Linked DNA regions of Homo sapiens: region 1 is linked to region 2. Evidence: promoter capture Hi-C in 16 types of primary human blood cells and fetal thymus (Javierre and others, 2016). All regions are on one chromosome and are shown on one strand. The core of a region is centred on a gene start or on the middle of the fragment in contact, and the rest is flanking DNA. Distances in the headings are between cores, read along the strand shown.

Region 1 (2,768 bases), core at 92-2,591, 760 kb after region 2:
ACACCAAACAATGTAAAGTACACTTTAGACTCTGTTGTAATAGATTTTTAGACAACCACATAGATGTCAGTGTTTATCCATATCTAGGAATTATGTAGAAAGTATTGTTTTGGTTTGGGCATTATTTTTGCTTAGAAATTATAAAAATATAAAAAGTATTTGTTTTTCTTGTGTAAAATCAAAGCCTTCAGGTTTTCATTTAAATTGAACATTAGCCTTTGATTTGAATAACTTATGCCCTTCAGGTGCCCTAAAGCTGTTGGATAACAGGAACATTTTAATGTTTTACAGCCTGTCTGGAACTCTTGCAGCTTGGGCTACTAGGTCCATGGGTGAAGGTCAGCCTGGCAGAGACTCTGGGATCAGTCCTTGGAGGGTGGGTCAAGTTTGAGTAGCTCAAGGTTGAGTTGAGCAGAATAGCTGGTCTTACCCAGCCTCAGCTCTCAGCCTTCTAGTAATGGGATTCCTGCCATATTTCCATGACTGCTGGTGCAAGGATGTGTGTGTGTGTGTGTGTGTGTGTATGTGTGTGCATGTGAGTATATATGTTTATGTGCACACCTGTGTGTTTATGGTCAAGCTGGAAGGGTTTTAGCATGGGAATCAGAATTTGTTTTTGCAGTCTCTGTCCATTTTAATTGACTTGCCTTATCTGGAAAAGCCTTTGTTCATGTCCTGCCTCCACTGATCTTTCTCAAAATCTCATGCAGAGACATAATAGCTGCTCTGTAAACATACTGAACAAAACTTTTCAGAGTGTCGTGAAGTCGTAAGGAACTACCAGGCTTAGATTCGTAGTTTGTATGTGTTCAATGTAAGTGAAGAACTGTGACAGGACATACAACAGGCACCTTCTCTATAACCTTTCCTGAGCTGTTTGCACGCAGGATGCCACAGTACACTGGATCCAAGGAGTTGCTACTATTAATTTTATCCTGGGCTCTGCCCTCAGAAAAGGAGCTGGTTTCATTTTGGTCTCTGAAGTCATGAATATTACCACCTTCCTGCTGGGAATCATGTAAGAAACTGATTAGCCCCAGCTTGATTCCCCCTGCAACGGGGGACGCCTGGAGAGCTCACTGCACGAAGAGTCAGACTTGATGTTCAAAACTGAGCAAGTTTATTTGTTATCCGAGGAGAGAATGGAATAAGTATGGGAACCTTAGGGAAATAATTTGTACAGGTAGTTTTCAGTCTCTAACTGCAGCCCGAGTTCCCTCTGCTATTTTCTGATGGCAACTGATTTTTTTTTTTTTTAATGAAAGAAAACACAGGGGAGACAATTTACTTTTGTCAGAAAGATATACTATCTCAGGCAGATGTGATTCCCTCCTAGGTATGGTTTTATTCTTTTTAAATTCCACCGAATTCCTAAAACAGATTCTGGAGCTTCGGTTTCTGGTTCTTGCCCCATTTCTAACTTACTGGATTATAACAGGTAATATCCTTAAACATGCTGAGCCTGTTTCCACTCAAGCAAAAATAAGAATTAGGACATCTAGCCTACATAAAAGGGAATGCCAAGGGAATCTGGTGGATTATTTTTGATGTTTGGGAGAAAGAAATAGCATCTACTACTACTACCAATTCTTATTGTTCTGTGTGAGCCTACCCTGAGAATAAGAATTGCTATTTCACTTTTAAGGAATGAAAGAAAAATGTAAGGAAACAGAGATGATGATTTAATACTTTGACCAATCTGAAATGAAATAGGGGCACTTCTCTTAAGACCTGGATATAGTTCATGATTTCAAGCTAACAGTATCTGAAAAATCAGCTAAGCTATTTTTCAAAGGGCATTTGGAAGAGAATAATATAATGTTATTAACAGATTAATAATGATTTTACATAAATGAATGTGATATAATATGATAATAATATAGATTAATAATACTATAAATAGAATAATATTTCTTAGAACCAAAAGAAGATTTTACGTGCTTTAAGGAGATAAAAGAGAGAGAACCATAAAATAAGAGATTCCAGAAAGTTTATCCTCTTGACATCTCAGAAATGAACATTTCCTGAAGCAGGAAGTAGGAATGCTCCTTGGTTTTTTGTTGTTGTTGTTGTTGTTGAGACAGAGTCTCGCTGTGTCGCCCAGGCGAGAGTGCAGTGGTGCGATCTCGGCTCACTGCAAGCTCCGCCTCCCGGGTTCCCGCCATTCTCCTGCCTCAGCCTCCCGAGTAGCTGGGACTATAGGTGCCTGCCACCACGCCCGGCTAATTTTTTGTATTTTTTAGTAGAGACGGGGTTTCACCGTGTTAGCCAGGATGGTCTCGATCTCCTGACTTCGTGATCCGCCCGCCTCGGCCTCTCAAAGTGCTGGGATTACAGGCCTGAACCACTGCACCCGGCCTCCTCCGTGTTTTTTAATACCCTTTCCCCACAATGCCAGCATAGTGCTGTGAGAAGTAGTAGGGCTGACGAGTGAATGAAGGAACGCAGAGATGGATGAGTCAAGGAAGGAATAAGTGAATGTTCTCACATCGCTAGAGGGCTTTGTTATTTGCTTTTACTTTTGTGGTTATAGAAGCTGATTGTAGGGAATTTGCAAAATGAAGATAAGTATAAAAATGAGAATTAAAATCACAGAGGAAACCCCCTGGGGTCTTCATTTGCAGGTTTGTGCTTTTGCCAACATGTATAGCTAGTTATGTAAATTTAATGCATGGAAATTCTGTGTCTTAAAGTCTGATCTTCATGGAATTAAAAAAGAAAGGGAATTTCCATAGTTTGTATGTATCAACTTTGAATCAGGAAAAATT
Region 2 (2,700 bases), core at 127-2,626:
TGAGCCACCACGCCCGGCCTCGGGCACGTTATTTTAAAAACACACCATCTCGGCGCGGTGGCTCACTCCTATAATCCCAGCACTTTGGGAGACCGAGGCGGGTGGATCACGAGGTCAGGAGATCGAGACCATCCTGGCCAACAAAGTGAAACCCCGTCTCTACTAAAAATACAAAAAATTAGCCGGGCATCGTGGCGGGCACCTGTGGTCCCAGCTACTCGGGAGGCTGAGGCAGGAGAATGGCGTGAACCCGGGAGGCGGAGCTTGCAGTGAGCCGAGATCCCGCCACTGCACTCCAGCCTGGGCTACAGAGCGAGACTCCGTCTCAAAAAACTAAAACAAAAATAAAAACAAAAAACACCATCTCAACTCCCTGACAATCTAAAGTTGGAACAGAAGCTTCTGATGTAGCCAGCCACCCAAATTCCCTTTTCACTTCCCTTTCACTCTGAAAAGCGCTTTTACTTTTAGTAGTATTAAAACTTCAAGAGCATTAGCCTCCCTAATAGTCCCTTTTATTCCTCCTATTAGATTATTTCTGTTCTTAAGAGGCAGCAGGAGGAGCCCTGTAACCAGCACGTAACCTTAGGCAAGGCCATGAACACGCCTGCGCCTGTTTCCTAACTTAAAGAGAAGCATTAGCCGGTCTCTAAGGTCCTGGAACTCCCGTCTGCTGTCGCTGGGCGTTCATTTGAAAGACAAAAGCGGTTCCGAAAGCACGCCCGGCGGTCCCTGCTCTGGGAGTGCTGACCTGCCTGTGTGCAGCACAAAACCGCTCCCTTCCGGCCCTCACAGCTAACCTGCAGTCCCCATCCCTCCAGCTTCCTTTCTGCCATAAATCACTAACTGTGTGGGAGATGAAATCCGCCTGGTGAAGGCTGGGACGGACAAAACACAGTATTCCAAAATCTAGGGCCCAAATCGGAGCCCTCGGAGACGCGGCCCCTAAAGCCAATGGGGTCCGGGGCGGCCCGGAAACTTCCGGGAGAACCGGACCCTGAGATTCTGGAAGGGCCAAATAGTGACCCTCTTCCCTAAAAATCACGGAAGAGACATGAAAACCACGGGATCTCCCTGGCAAACCTCAGGAGACAGCAGAGAACTGCGGAGCCGAGAAGGCGGGGCAAGAACTTCCGGGGTGGGGCTACGGCCGGGGCGCAGGGGTTGGCGGGCAGGGCCCTCGCCTCCAGCGACGCATCCACCCACCCCTGGGTCCGGCTCTACTGGGTTATCCTCGTTCCGCCGAGCAGGAGAGGCCGGGGGCGCCCGGGAGCTTGCAGGCGGGCGTGGGTGCTTGCGTTCTCTACTCGGGATCCGCGAGCAGGGCCAGCGAGAGGCCAAGTGTTGTGCCCTTCGCGACCCTCGCGTCTCTTAGTAACGCGATGAAGCTGCAGGAGCTCCCGGCTCCTTCAGGCCCCGCCCAGCTAGCTCAGGCCCCGCCCCCGGGAGTGGGCTTTTATGCGCATGCGCGAGGGCTGGGGTGGGCGCCGGCCCATCTTACTAAGCCAATGTAGGTCCCAGGTAGGAGCGCTGCCAGGGCTCACCCCTGAGCAGAGATGGAGGGCGAAAAAGGGTTACTTGCCGCTACTTGAATCCCAGACAAAATTCCCTGTGAAAGCGGATCACAGCACGGAGACTGTGTTTGTAGTTCCTGATAGTAGATATCTCCTATCTATTCATTTGCGAGGAATGAACCATTCCAGAGAGTCGCCATAGTGCCTGACAATCAGTAAACCTACAATAGATGATATCTATAGCTTTAATTATTTTTTCTAGCATTATCTATTACTATATTACAGTACTATCTAAGCGAAAAGTGATCAGATTCAAGATATACGGTTTTTTGTTTTTTTGTTTTTGTTTTTTTTTAGACGGAGTCTCGCTCCGTCGCCCAGGCTGGAGTGCAGTGGTGCTATCTCGGCTCACTGCAAGCTCCGCCTCCCGGGTTCACGCCATTCTCCTGCCTCAGCCTCCCGAGTAGCTGGGACTACAGGCACCCACCACCACGCCTGGCTAATTTTTTGTATTTTTAGTAGAGACGGGGTTTCACCGTGTTAGCCAGGATGATCTCGATCTCCTGACCTCGTCATCCACCCGCCTCGGCCTCCCAAAGAGCTGGGATTACAGGCGTGAGCCACCGCGCCCGGCCAATTTACATGTTTTGAATGTAGAGCCATCAGGACTTGTCAAATTGTTGAATGAAAGAAAGGAGCAATTGTGTGCTGGAGCCAGCTCATTAGAGCTCTGGAGACTCAGTAATTAAATTTTTAGGAATTTTTCTGAGCTCGTTGTTAAATACAAGCCATGAGCTGGAGTCAATGAAGATGACAAGGGCCTCGGGCACCTGCCCCAAACAAAACAAAAACACAAGACATATCACAAATTAAATTATATAAACTTCTAAATAAACGAGTCATACTAAAACAAAGGCAATACTTAGTAAAACTAAAAACAAAAAACTATTTACTTACAACTCCCAAATTTCTCTCTTCAGCCCGGTCTTTCTCTGAACTTTAGATTTGTATATCAATGTATATTCAACATCCACTTGATTGTACAAAACAACCTCCCCAAACACCTCCCTGCCAAAACAAAAACAAAAACCCTGCTCCTTCTTCATGTCTTTTAGTAGATGTGGCCTAGAGCCCTCTCTTTCCATATCCATCAATGCAACCTGCTGACTTTATAGCTTCTACTCAA

What was found. Contacts are between HindIII fragments. The CHiCAGO score rates a contact against its expected background, and 5 or more counts as called.
Region 1: a contact is called between a fragment that was not itself captured here and the fragment with the promoter of MEIG1 in region 2, in 5 of 17 cell types (total CD8 T cells, naive CD4 T cells, naive CD8 T cells and 2 more). The highest score is 7.4, in total CD8 T cells.

What each region holds. Positions count from the first base shown.
Region 1 is chr10:14,193,920-14,196,687 of GRCh38, reverse strand. All of the region lies in intron 2 of FRMD4A (FERM domain containing 4A), which reads left to right. Among named protein-coding and RNA genes, the nearest start is that of FRMD4A-AS3, 120 kb to the right of the region's middle. The HindIII fragment of the contact is 9,275 bases long and covers 1-2,768 here.
Region 2 is chr10:14,958,064-14,960,763 of GRCh38, reverse strand. MEIG1 (meiosis/spermiogenesis associated 1) reads right to left here and starts at 1,376. Exons shown (of 3, transcript NM_001080836.3): 1 at 1,207-1,376. RefSeq lists a silencer at 1,104-1,153. The HindIII fragment of the contact is 3,683 bases long and covers 402-2,700 here.